2 separate regions of the Homo sapiens genome follow, and region 2 is linked to region 1. Evidence: promoter capture Hi-C in human tissues and cell types (Jung and others, 2019). All regions are on one chromosome and are shown on one strand. Each heading gives the region's core, a stretch centred on a gene start or on the middle of the fragment in contact. The rest is flanking DNA. Distances are from core to core; before and after follow the strand shown.

Evidence for each region. The method cuts DNA at HindIII sites, captures the fragments that hold promoters and counts their contacts. A contact is called where the count stands out against the background at its distance.
Region 2: a fragment that was not itself captured here is called in contact with the fragment with the promoter of HDC in region 1 in 1 of the 25 tissues and cell types used here (IMR-90 fibroblasts).

Annotation. Positions count from the first base shown.
Region 1 is chr15:50,263,988-50,271,340 of GRCh38, forward strand. It overlaps HDC (histidine decarboxylase), which reads right to left and starts at 1,739. Exons shown (of 12, transcript NM_002112.4): 1 at 1,606-1,739. The coding sequence starts at 1,636. The HindIII fragment of the contact is 21,543 bases long and covers 1-7,353 here.
Region 2 is chr15:50,324,952-50,332,304 of GRCh38, forward strand. The region is part of intron 1 of GABPB1 (GA binding protein transcription factor subunit beta 1); the gene reads right to left. Among named protein-coding and RNA genes, the nearest start is that of GABPB1-AS1, 26 kb to the right of the region's middle. The HindIII fragment of the contact is 6,963 bases long and covers 54-7,016 here.

The DNA of each region.
Region 1 (7,353 bases), core at 489-2,988:
CCACTTCAATTTTGATTGTCTCTCCTACCTTTCTTTCCTTCTCAGAAACAGAACATCTATTAACTATTTTATAGGTTCAATAGAAACTCTATAGCTCTTTGTATCCAAAAATTGTTACACACACACCCACCAGTTATATCTGTTAGCACAGATAGAAAGATTCCATGCCCAGTTCCGATAAAGGACAAAAAAATCTATTTTTTCACCATCCCCATTGAATCAGTTATTATTCATCTTTTTTGGACTCATATGAGGACTTAATTCAAGAATCTGATTAAAACTGTAGGCTTACATATACACAGAACTTTGTGTATAATTTCTGAGGCTCACAGAATCCCTAAAGCACAACCATGGATCCAGACCAAGCCCCCTGCCCTGGCCTGGGAAATGTGGCACCAAATCTTAATGACTTTCTCTCCCTCCTGCTGCCTCCATCAACACCTCAGTGCTTAGGATATTTTTTAGATGCTAAAAAAAAATGTATCAAGTGAATGAACATATGAGTAAGGAAGGAAAAAAAAGTCAAGTTGAACACTCTGAAACTATTGCAAATTATTTATTCTTTCAGATTGCAGTCTTCAGTGCCTCTGTTGCTGTGTGTGCATGTGTGTGTGTGTACATATCTCTTTGTCTGTCTCAACATCCATTCCTTAGTACTCCCTGGGCTGCTTTTACCTAGGAGAGGGGACTCAGTTTCTCCCCTCTGCATCAGCTTATGCAAAGTTCTTAAGAACAGAACCAACCCCAGACAAAACTTATGAGACAAAGGTAGATTTCCACACCATTCTATCTTCCTTCTGCTCCCCTTCAACCCTCTCACATCCTGGTTCTTCTCCAGCAGGGCCCCACCAGAGATCTGAGAGCTCTAGACCTAACCCTCCACTGATCCAGGAACAGTGCTAAATGTATTTGTGTTCCACTCAGAAGATAAATATCCACAGGAACTTGCTCTCAGCTGACAGTGCCTTAGGAAAGCAATGGAATAAGCTAACGCACACTAATTAGTGAGTAGGAGGATATAAAACATTATAGAAATAGACATTCAAGATTCTTTTTTAAGCAACTACCTACTTTCCTGCTAAGGGAGATCCATGCCTGAGAACTGGATAACCACTTGGTTTTGCCTGATACAGAGTAGGCACCTACTAAATATTTATGAAATGAATGACTAAATGAAAGAACACTGCTGATAGATTCACACATGAAGGAATGAATGTTAAGAAAGAAAGGATTTGCAGTGATTACAGAATATTGAGAAAATTTTTTTCTATTTCAGAATATGAACAATCCCCTTTTCCCATCTAGTGGCTCAGGGATCCAAATCCTCAATTTTGTGGGAAAGTGGGGAGGAAAAGCAAGGCACGGTAGTGTGGACATATGTGAGAGTGGGTATATGAGAGGGAGAATGAAAGAGTGGTTGAGAAAAGTTTTACACTCTGATCCCACATTCCTTTCGCAGAAAAAAAAATGTTGCTGGTGCCAACTCTCAGAAGGCAATTCTAATGCTCCCATCAAATGTCACCCCAGAATCTAAGGGCCACCCACCAGCAGCCGTTCCTGCAGGAGTAGCAGCAGGGAAGAGGGCCAGGGATGCCCGTTGCTCACCTCTCTCTCTGTACTCCTCAGGCTCCATCATCTCCCTTGGGCTCTGGCTCCTTCTCACAGATGGACACGCAGGAGGTGGAAGGCGTGAAAGGCGTGGAGCAGCCCGGCTTCCCTCTTGCCAGTCCTGCGCACTCCCTGGCAGCCAGTGTGGGCCCTTTATTTAAAGGGTTCTTTCTTTGACCTTAGCTCCGCCCTTCAAAGTCCCTTCCTCCAGGTTTAATTAATTCCACCCTTTCTTTCCCCAGTCCTTGTAGAAAACAGCGACCACAACTTTGACTGGTCAAGAGAGCCAGGATAAAAGGCGCTTCTAAATTAAGCAGTGCACTTAGCAACCCAAGCCTGCAGGCAGCCTCCAGGTGGATGCCGTAAAAGAGCCCTCAGTTCTTTCTGCCCCTGGATTCAGACAATAGAGCTCCAGCCTCAGACAAGCTCCCAGCTCAGTAGACCAGAATAAGGCCAAGGGTATGCAGAAAAAGTAGCACAAATTATTAGTATTATTCCTGCCCCTGTTTCCTTATCAGCAGTAGGGAGGGAGGAACAGGCACTAATAGTGATGCCCCCTGTGCCCAGGAACAGGCAGAAGTTATCATTGACCACAATGGATTTTTCTATTACAACATACTATCTGTTGTTGCAAAGAATGAAAAAACACAGTTATAAGCCAAAAAGAATAGAAATTAAAACATCACCCCAAATTAATCACTTTTAGCACTTAAAGAAGTAGAAGGGGGGCGTGTAAAGGGACCTGCAGAAACCCCTGTAGGGAGGGGAAACACTATCCTTGGGGTTTGATTTCTGAGTAAAAAGTAATCCAACGTTTTCACGTTGCTAAATGCAATAGTCTTTCTTGTTTATTTGTTTCCAGTCGTCCTTCTGGTTCTCTTGGTGGCATTTTATTTGTTACTACTTCATCCTTGCAGCTCACAGTTTCTCTGGGCTTTCCTCCTACATCTCTGGCTGTTTGTTTCCTCCAATGCTGGCACACCTCAGGGCATTGCCCTCCTTTCATCTTTCTGCTTTGGTGGCATTGCCCATTTCTAAGGCTTTTTTTGTTTTGTTTTGTTTAGACGGAGTCTTGCTCTGTCGCCCAGGCTGGAGTGCAGTGGCACAATCTTGGCTCACTGCAACCTCTGCCTCCCGGGTTCAAGCAATTCTCCCACCTCAACCTCCTGAGTAGCTGGGCCTACAGGTATGTGCCACCATGCCCCACTAATTTTTGTGTTTTTAGCAGAGATGGGGTTTCACCATGTTGGCTGGGTTTGTCTCGAACTCCTGACCTCAAGTGATCCACCCGCCTCAGCCTCCCAAAGTGCTGGGATTACAGGTGTGAGCCACTGCGCCCGGCCCATTTCTTAGGCTTGAAATGTTACCTATGTGATATCCGTATAGGTTTAAACATACCATCAGGCCCTCCCTGTCTTTTGAGCTTCAAAATCTTATATCCAACTGCCTTTCTGACAAATCCTCTCTTATGACTCTGAGGCACCTCAAACTTAACGTATTGCAAAACTGTCTTTCCCCAAAAATATGCCCCACTTCTAGTCTTCCCCATCTCAGTTCATCATCTCTCCATTTTCCATCCACCCATCTATTCACCCCTTGACCGTCCATTCATCCAACCACTCATCCATCCAACCACCATCCATGCATCCATCTATCCTTTCATCCATCCATTCATCCACCCAAATGCTGAAGGCATAAACCTGGTGTCTTCCTTCCCCTTCACTTTCCCTGCTCCCTGCCCAATTCAATCTGTTCAGATTCAGTTCTATTTCCAAAATAAATCTAGTCTGTCAAATTCTCCCCATTTCCATGACTACCACCCTATTCCGGTCCAAGCCACCATTATCCTTCACCTAGACTAATGCAGGAGGCTTCTCATTGGCCTGTTACTGACCATGGGTTCTTGGGCTCTCAATGTAATAGAAATTGAGAAGGCCAAAAGAGTTTTCCCAGACAGGGCATTATCAGAGCTTATGCCCAGGCATAAGGGAGACAGCACGAGAGAGAGAATTCTCTGGCAGGCTCCTTGAAGAGAGTCAGGAAAGTAATTTTAGGCTAAAATAGGTAGGAAATTTTTTAATTACTACTGAAAAAACTACAGTGAGAAATCACTTCATACAGACTATGATGACTATAATAAAAAAGATAGATAACAACAAGTATTGGTGAAGACAGGGAAAAATTAGAACCCTCATACTTTACTGGTGGGAATGTAAAATGGCACAGCCATTTTGGAAAATAATCTGGAAGCTCCCCAGAAAGCTAAACCTAGAGTTCTTTATGACTCAACAATTCTACTGCTAGGTGTATATCCAAGGAAAATGAAATCATGTCCACACAAAAACGTATACATGGGTGTTCATAGCAGAATTATTATAATAGACAAAAATGGAAATAATCCAAATGTTCAGATGAATGAATGAAACGTAGTATATCAATACAACAGAATATTATTCCATGATAAAAAGGAATGAAGTACTGATACATACCAAAACATGGATGAACTTGGAAACATACTAAGTGAAAGAAACTAGTCACAAGGAACCATATATTATATTATTTCATTCATATGAAATATCGAGAATAGACAAATCTACAAAATAGATTCATGGTTAGAAGTGGGTAGGGAGCTGAAGATTGATGGCTAAGGAGAACAGGGATTTTTGGCAGGGTGGTAAGATGAAAATGTTCAAAATTGTTGGGTTTTGGTTTTGTTTTATTTTGCTTCGTTTTATTTTGCTTTGTTTTGTTTTGTTTTGAGATGGAGTCTCACTCTGTGGCCCAGGCTGGATTGCAGTGGTGCAATCTCGGCTCACTGAAACCTCTGCCTCCTGGGTTCAAGCAATTCTCCTGCCTCAGCCTCCTGAGTAGCTGGGATTACAGGCGTGAGCCACTGCGCCCTGCTGAAAATGTTTTAAAATTTATTATGGTGATGGTTGCACACTTCTGTGGATATACTAAAAGCTATTAAACTGTACACTTCAAACGAGGAAATTTTATAGAATGGGAATTATATCTCAATAAAACTGTTGATTTAAGAAAAAAAAAAGCCCTAAGAAAATAAGGGCATTGGTGAAAAAATGGCCTAGAGGATTTAGATTCCAGTGATATTGTCAATAAATCCTTCATTAGGAGCCAGGGTGGGAAAAATAATAATATTGACAACGATATGGGAGGTAAAAAATTTGATCTCATGGAGGTAGAGAATAAAATGATAGTTACCAGAGACTGGAAAGGGTTGGTGGGAGCTGGGGGTGAGGAATAAGTAGAGATTGGTTAATTGGTACAAACATATAATTAGATGGAATTCAATAATATTCAATAGCACATTAGGATGACTATAGTTAATAATTTATTGTATATTTCAAAATAGCTAGATTTGGAATGTTCTGAACACAAAGAAAAATGTTTGAGATGATGGATATCTTAAATATCCTGATTTGATCATTACACACATTGTATGCATGTATCAAAATATCACATATACTCCATAAACAGGTACAAATATTATGTGTCAATTTTAGAAAGTGCCAAGCACCAAGTTAGGCATTTTTATTTTTATTTTTATTTTTATTTGTTGAGACAGGGTCTCACTCGTCAACCAGGCTGAAGTATAGTGATGCGATCACAGCTCATTGCAGCCTTGACTTCCAGGCCCTGGTAATTCTGCCACCCCCACCTCCTGAGTAGCAAGGACGACAGGCATGTGCTACCACACTCAGATGATTATTGTTTTTTATTTCTTGGAGTTTTTCTGTAGAGATGGGGTTTCGCCATGTTACCCAAGTTGGTCTTGAACTCCTGGGCTCAAATGATCCACCCATCTCAGCCTCCCAAAGTGTTGGGATTACAGGTGTCAGCCACCACACCCAGCCAAGTTAGGCACTTTAAATAAAAAAGTGTTCGTTATTTTTTCTCCAAGTGTTGCTATCTCCCCATTATCTCTCTTCTATTCTGCAAATGCAGTCCTATGTTAAACTTGTGTATTATATATACTATTATATATAAATATAAATAGCATTGTATTCTTTATTTTCCATCTTCTTGTTTCTGAGTTGGTTTGAAAATATTTTTCTTTTTTAGTTGTCTCTTCAAATGTAGCTAATATAATAAACCATTTATTGATTTCTTAATATCAGATATTATATTTTTTCAGTTGTAGAATTTGTATTTCTTCTGCCTTATGGGGGCAAAAAAAGAATTTTTATTTGGTTCCTTTTTATAGTTTTCAACTCCTTGCCAAATTTTTAAATCTGGCCTTTTATTTCATTGAACATAGTGGATGATTTTTTTAAATTGCTACTGAACAATATAAAAAAAGACCTGTACAGATGAAAAGACGTACCATGCTCTCTCATGGAGTAAGATTTAACATCATGAAATAATGGTTTTCCCCTAAGTTAACCCGAAAATTTAACATAATCCCAGTGGAAAAATCAACAGGTTTTTGGGTGTTCTATTTTGGAATTCAGTGCCAACTTTTAAAGTTCTTAGGAAAAATAAACCAGAATAAAGAAGAAAATTTTGTAAGAGTAACGAGAAGGTTCTGTTCCTACCCAGAAGTATTAAAATGTATCCTGAAGCTCGAATAATTAGAACAATGAGGTAGATACTGGTGTACAAAGAGACAAACAAAAGGAGCAAATAAATTTAAACATGTACAGAAATTTAGCATATAATAAAGATAGCATCTCAGATCAGAAAGAAAAAGATGGACTATTTAATAAATTGTCCTAGAACAAGGTATAGCCATCTGGAAAGAAAAATAAGCTGTATCTATCTTTCACATCGTGCACTTAGATAAATTCCAGAAAAGTCAGATCTAAATGTGAAAAATGGAAGCATAAAATTACAGGAAACCATCACCACCATCAGGTTAACTGATGGCTTCATGGGTGTGTACACATGTCCAAACTCATCAAATAGTAGTAAATATATGCTATTTTTGTATATCAATTATGCATCAATAGAGCTGTTTTTAAAAGATGAAAATTAAATTAAGAAAATTAGAAGATTCCCTGGACAACCTCAGAGTAAAGAATACATTTATAACTATGGTTCAATGCCAGAAACCATAAATCCAATCACATTTTTTTAAAACCATAAGAAAAATCAAGATAAATGACAAACTGAGAAAATATATTTGCAACATATTTGCACAATGGGCAAATTTGTCTAATCTATGAAGAATTTCACATCAAGAAGAAAAGAGGTCAGGCACAGTGGCTCATGCCTGTAATCCCAGAGCACTTTGGGAGGCCAAGACAGGTGGATCACCTGAACTCAGGAGTTTGAGACCAGCCTGGGTAACATCGCGAAACCCCATCTCTACCAAAAATAAATAAATAAATTAGCTGGGCATGGCGGCGTGTGCCTGTAGTCCCAGCTACTTGGGAGGCTGTGGCGGGAGGATCGCTTGAGCCTGGGAGGTTGAGGTTGCAGTGAGCCGTGATAGCGCCACTGCACCCCAGCCTGGGTGACAGAATGAGACCCTGTCTCAAAAAAAACAAAAAGTGATTTCCTTTTTTTGCACATAAAGGCAAATATATACTATATTCTAATTTTTCTCCTTTTCTTTCTTTTGTTAAACACAAAAGGGATAAGTACAGTACAATATTCTGTACTTTATTTGTTAATATATCTTGACACGTACTCCTTTTTTTCATAGAGCTGCATTGCGTGGACATACCAGAGAGTAATCAGTTCCCTAGCAGTGTACATTTCAGTTGTTTCCAGTCTTTTGCT
Region 2 (7,353 bases), core at 2,285-4,784, 63 kb after region 1:
TGGGATTATGAGTAGGTTGTTTCTTGTCTCCACTTTTTAGAGGGCTGGCCCCACCAGACATGCATAGCTCCCTGAAAATACCATGCCCAAGGAAGGTGTTCAGTAATGTGTGTTCCTTTCTGACTCTAAATGTCAGGTCCTTTCTAAGTAAATTTTGTGATTTAAAAAAGGTGAAGTCAGTACAGGATGAAATGTGCTTTGAGAGTGTCAGGATGAAATTGTTTCCATGAGGAAGAGGGACAAGTGTACCCCATGGTAAGTGGGCCTAGATCAAGACTTGGCCTCCAATAGTCAGTAACTACAAACTGGACAAATAATATTTTGAGGGCACTAAGGCAATATGATGTTATGCCAAAAAAAAAAAAAAAAAAGGCACGGCTAAAAGCCAGAAGTTGAGACCCCACCTCTGCCACAGATCAGCTGTGTGACCCAGGTGCAAATCTCGTCACTCCCTGTCTGGTTCTGTTTCTGCTGATGTAGAATGGAGCAATCAATGACAAAAAAAAAAAATCATCATCATCTGTGGTTCACTATATTTCTACTGGAGAGAGCTGTTCTAGAATCACTGGTCAAACTTTTTTTTTTGTTTTTTTTTCTTGAGATGGAGTCTCGCTCTGTCGCCCAAGCTGGAGTGCAGTGGCACGATCTTGGCTCACTGCAAGCTCCGCCTCCGGGGTTCACACCATTCTCCTGCCTCAGCCTCCTGAGTAGCTGGGATTACAGGTGCACACCAGCACGCCCAGCTAATTTTTTGTATTTTTAGTAGAGATGGGGTATCACCCTGTTAGCCAGGATGGTCTCGATCTCCTAACCTCGTGATCTGCCTGCCTCGGCCTCCCAAAGTGCTGGGATTACAGGCGTGAGCCACTGCGCCCGGCCTGGTCAAACTTCTTGAAGCCACTAACTTCAGAATATGCAAGAAGTCATAACATTTTAAAATAAGATATAAGGGTTTTTTTTGTTTTTTTTTTTTTAAGACAGAGTCTGGCTCTGTCGCCCAGGCTGGAGTGCAATGGCACGATCTCAGCTCACTGCAACCTCTGCCTCCCAGGTTCAAGCGATTCTCCTGCCTCAGCCTCTCAAGTAGCTGGGAATATAGGCGCCCACCACCACGCCCAGCTAATTTTGTATTTTTAGTAGAGGCAGCGTTTCACCATGTTGGCCAGGCTAGTCTCGAACCCCTGACATCAGGTGATCCACCCACCTCGGCCTCCCAAAGTGCCAAAAGGCATGAGCCACCATGCCTAGCCAAGTGGATTCTTTTAGAAAAACTTCATCTAGGCCAGACATGGTGGTTCATGCCCATAATCCCAGCATTTTGGAAAGCCAAGGTGGGAAGATCGTTCAAGCCCAGGAGTTTGAGACCAGACTGAACAACATGGTGAAACCCTAATCTCTCCAAAAATTTTTAAAAATTAGCCAAGAGCCAGGTATGGTGGCTCACGCCTGTAATCCCAGCACTTTGGGAGGCTGAGGTGGGTGGATCACCTGAGGTCAGGAGTTTGAGACCAGCCTGGCCAACATGGTGAAACCCCGTCTCTACTAAACAATAAAAAAACAATTAGCTGGGCATGGTGGCATGCGCCTATAGTCCCAGCTGCTGGGGAGGCTGAGGCAGGAGAATCGCTAGAACCCGGAAGGCAGAGGTTGCAGTGAGCTGAGACGGCGCCATTGCACTCCAGCCTGGGCAACAGAGTGAGACTCCGTCTCAAAAAAAAAAATGAAAAACAAAAATTAGCCAGGGTTGGTGGCATGCTCCTGTGGTCCAGCTACTCAGGACGCTGAGGTGGGAGGACTGCTTGAGCCTGGGAGGTCAAGGCTGCACTGAGCCATGATCACACTCCTACACGCCAGCCTAGGCAAAAGAGCAAGACCCCCGTCTTTAAAAAAAAAAAAGAAAGAAAGAAAAACTGCACATGATGAATTGCCCCTGTTATGGTGCTGAATACGCTTTCCTTCTAAAAACCATACGAGGAGACAGCCTTTATCCTTGTAAGATTTCACAAATTCATTTGACAATGAAGGGGGCCCATGGATTTTACTAAATCCTCCTCATCTTTGCCACTGACTATGCCTTTGCCCAATTCAACTACCAGTTGTTTTTAAATCACATGAATGTATCCCAGGAAAAAAATGGAGGCTTGAAAAGAGTGCAAGTAGAAGATAAAGAAAAGGCTTTTTAGAACTCTACTGGAATTAGCCAGTAGATGCCTTTGATTTAATCAGGGAAGTATAACTTACCTGCTTCCTACAAAATGAAGCCAATAAACTGCTGGTTCTTGTAAGTCACAAAAATGAACCATCAATATTCTGCTCAAAAAAAGAATGCATACATTCTGATCCTTTCTTCTCAGAAGTTCTCATACACATCCCCTCCTCTCTACTACCTCTGGTCTTACACACTCATTGCCTCATACCTTACACATCACAATGGTCTCTCAGCTGATTTAACTCTAGTTTCTCCATCCTGCTGCCAGGCAATCCCCCTAAAATACAATTGTATTCAATCAAACATTTCTATATTTGAACCTCTACATAGTACCTGCCCTTAAAGAATTCACCATCTGGTAGGGAAGACATACGTCTCATGATTCCCTTGTCCAAAATCCCCACCAATACAATCATTCTGAAGAACAATTTATCAACTTCTAGTAGAGTTTAAGATGGGATGACCGGGCGTGGTGGCTCATGCCTGTAATCCCAGCACTTTGGGAGGCCTAGGTGGGCAGATTGAGGTCAGGAGTTTGAGACTAGCCTGACCAACATGGAGAAACCCCATCTCTACTAAAAATACAAAATTAGCTGGGCGTGGTGGTGCATGCCTGTAATCCCAGCTACTTGGGAGGCTGAGGCAGGAGAATCGCTTGAACCCGGGAGGTGGAGGTTGCAGTGAGCCGAGATCGTGGCATTATACTCCAGTCTGGCAACAGAGCGAGACTCCATCTCAAAAGAAAAAAAAAAGATGCGCCTACTCTTTGACCTAGGGATTCCACTGCTAGCTACCCTATCTTGGTATACTCTTAAACACATAAACAAGGAAAGAAATATGTTTATAAAAACATTATTGTAACAGGAAAAAAAAAAGAAATTCCAAATAACCTAAGTGTCTATAAACGAAAAAATTAAATTTTCATTATACAAATTTTCAAATATAGAAAATATACATGCATATATATAATATATACTGTATATGTGTGTTTGTGTGTTTGATTATACACATACCTATATACCCATCATTGACATTCTAAATTAAAAGCTGGTCATCTTGCTTCATCCTATTCCTTTCTAAAAAAAAAAAAAATTGTACTTTACAGCTTACACATGTTGTATTTGGTTACTCTATCTCTAAATCAAGTTTATTCTAGGACACTTTCCCTTTCTCCCATCTACCTCTCCCGTTTTTCTCCCTCATGACATTGATTTGTTGAAAAGAATGGTCGGTTCATCTGTACCTCATACTGAGTTTTTTTTATTGCTTCCTCAAGATAGCATGTAATTTCTTGATCTTCCATATGTCTTACAAACTAAGTCTCTGAAGTTAATTAAAATTCGGATTTAATATTTTAGACAAAAAATGTCAATAGCAACATGCTTGATATTGAAGCACATCAGGAAGCACATCTTTTTTGGATCACTTTTAATGATACTAAGAATAATAGCTAGGTTAGTGATAGTCTAATCCTTCCAATGTAAAGTTATATTCTTTTAGCTTGAGGCCAACTAGAAATCTGTGGCATCATACTTTGGCTCCATGGGAATATCCAATTCCCAAACATTTTTGTCTGACAGTTTTAGCACCCATTAATGATCCTGGCCCAAATCAATTATTCATAACAGGTTGTAACAAATTGTCACTTTCAAATTCTTTATTTCCTTCTACATTACTTGGCATCCCTCACTAAATATAAAATGGTGCCCACTCAAAAGGCAGTTCAAATATATTATCGTTTTTCATTACCAATTTTCAGAGTAAAGAATAATAGCCACCTAGCCACCTCCATTTGTTCTATTTATTGTTATATAATCATTTTCTCAAGAAATTATTCTCCTTATTTCTTCTGATGTTCAAATTGTCCCAATTTTGGCCAAGGAGAGCCTTTTCGATTTGGCTTTTCCATCTTTGAAAGCTTTCTTGGTTTTGGCACAAGAATGTTCCAGGTTACGCATGTCCCCTGCTCCAGACCCAGAATCAGTCATTTCTTCAAGGAGTCCTGGATTCTTTCAAGTACAAGTATTTAAAGACCAAAATTAGGGTTTTAGAAGAGCTCACATCTACCAAGATGACAAAGTGTTTCTAGGTCCTCTCAGTGGACAGAGCTAAGGAACAAATTTATATGGATTGAATTAAGAAATGTATATTATAAATGATGAATTCATATTGACATTTATAATTCAGGTTCAAAATTATAGGTTTTGTGCTTAGCTTCTTTGATTTTATACTTGTATCTCTATTGATTCGTAATCATTCACATAAAGACTTACTGCCTTTATCCTACAATACATATCATATGGTGTCAAAATTAAAATACCAATATTACAACTAGCAATAAAATGAATAAAGGTGGGGGTTTTTTTGCAGTTCTTTTATCCTTAGCGTATATGCCATTTAGTATTAAGCTCCAAAGTCACCTGAAATAGTTTTTCTCCATGTATTTAAATAACTATTTTGATATAAACATGGATACCATTGTTCAAGTTTGTCTTCAATTTTAAGGATTTAAAAAAATTTACTATAATTTTTGAATGTGTATTTACATAATTCAAAAGTCAGAGCTAAATAATAAAAAGACACACTCAGAAATCACATTTCCATCCCTACTTCATGTATTTCCCATACCTTCTACCATAGGGTAACAATTTTATTAGTTTCTAATTTGTCTTTTAAGTGTTTCTCTTTGCAACATAAACAAATTTGCATATATTCATATTCTTATTCTCCACCCTTCCACTCTTACTTTTTTTTTTTTTCCCTGAAGGCAGGGTCTCATTCTGTCACCCAGGCTGGAATGCAGTGGCGTGATCATGGCTCACTGCAGCCTCGACCTCTCAGATTCAGGTGATCCTCCCACCTCAGCCTCCGAAGTAGCTGGGACTACAGGCACGCATCACCACACCTGACTAATTCTAATTTTTGGAGAGACGAGGTTTTGACATGTTGCCCAGGCTGGTCTCAAACTCCGGGGCTCAAGCAATCCTCCCACCTCAGCCTCCCAAAGTGCAGGGATTACAGGCATGAGTCACCATGCCCAGCCACCATTCCCTACTTCTCACACCAAAGGAACATACTAAACACACATTGTTCTGTACTTTGCTTTTTTTCCCATTTAATATATATCCTGGAAAATACTGCATAGAGATTTTTCTCATTCTGTTTTACAGCTGCATAGTACTCGGCTATGTGAAAATACCATTGTATACTTTTAATTAAAAAAAAACTAGTTATCTCTTACTCTAGCAATCACAAGATCTCACCTTGCAATTTGAGTCCCTCTATCAACTGCCTCACACATTTACTTCATCCATTTTTCTCTGAATATAGGGCCCTGACAGTCATCCGATTTTAAACAATTCTCCTTCCTCATCTCATACACACTTACCTTATTCCAGACCCAATTCTCCTTCCTCATCCCATACACACTTACCTTATTCCAGACCCAATGTCTCCCCTCATGCTATTTTCCCAGTTTAGAATGGTTACATCCTTTCTCTCCAAATGCTATACTTCAATCAAAGCCCATTTTTAAAAGATCTTTTCTCCAACAAAACTTTCTAAGATGAGCTCTTAAATTTCCTCAGCAATATATAGCATAATCTCTATGTTTCTCTTCATTCAACAAACAAATGTTTACTGAGTAAATGAAGAGCAAAGAGCTTATGTTCTGGGATAAGAACTTCACAATAAAGAAGTAAATAAGTAGTAGTAGTAGTGGTGGTTGTGGCAGTGATAAACGGTATGAAGAAAAAGTAAGGCAGAGTAAGAAACAGAGTACTAGATTAGGGATAGGGAATTGCCATTTTGGAGAAAGTGATTACAAAAGGCCTCTCTGAGGAGGTGACAACTGAGTAGAAACAGGAATGAAAGGGAAAGCAAACCTAGGGAGGATCCAAAGGAAGCATCATGATGCACAAGTCATTCTCTTGGTTGCTTAGCATCAAAACACCTTCTTGTCCTTGGGGAATTCCCTTCCATATGCATCTTGAAAGAAGGCAGAAACCTCTGCCTACTACTGAATATTTGCTTTCCTTGCTTCCCATAAGGCAAGGGTACAGTCATATGACCTCCACTCCACAAGAGAAGCATCTGTGCTGGACCTTAATGTAGAAGATAGTGCATTTAAAAAGCCGAGAGTGTGTAGAACCCTTAGTGGCAAACGTGGCAGCAGATTCCAATAACAGTAGTGGTAGCAGCTTCCTCCTGTGATAAATTCCTTTTCTGTTAAATTAACCAGAGATTATTTGACTACTTAGAACTAAGAATTCTGGCTGACCCTGGTGATCCAGGGAAATGGAACAGCATATGTTAAGCGCCCTGAGCTACAGTGAAGAAGTATAACAGGAAATGCAATCATAGAAATACAAATGGGCTGGATCACATAGAACCTTATAGGCACTAGAAAGAGTGAATTTTATTGAGATTACTAGCAAGTTGTCAGAAAGTTTTAAACAGGAGAGTGTTGTGATGTGATTTACATTGTTAAGAGGCTACTCCTGTTATCATTTGGTTAATACATAGTGGAAAGCAAGAACTGAAACAAGCGTACTAGTTAGAAAATTATTCCAGGCAAGAGCTGCTGGCACCTCAGGCCTGGATGATACCTGTGTGGTTATTAGACAATTTACCTTTAATTGCTATATATTTAAGTTAAATCTAACATCATATTTTATGCTTTCCATTTGTCCCGTTCAGTTTTTTTTTTTGTTTTTTGTTTTTTGTTTTTTTTGAAATAGAGTCTCGCTCTGTCGCCCAGGCTGGAGTGCAGTTGCATGATCTCTGCTCACTGCAACCTCCACCTCCTGGGTTCAAGCGATTCTCCCGTCTCAGTCTCCCAAGTAGCTGGGATTACAGGCATGCACCATCACACTCTGCTGATTTTTGTATTTTTAGTAGAGACGGGGTTTCACCATGTTGATCATGCTGGTCTCGAACTCCTGACCTCAAGCAATCCACCTGCCTCGGCCTCCCAAAGTGCTGAGATTATAGGTATGAGCCACCGTGCCCAGCCCCCTGTCCAGTTTCTTTTCTCTCCTTTGTTGTTGCTGCCTTCTTTCCCCTCAATTCTTTTTAGCATTCTATTTATTTCCTCTACTGATTTGGAAGTTATACCCTCTGTTTCTGTTCTTTTGTTGGTTTTC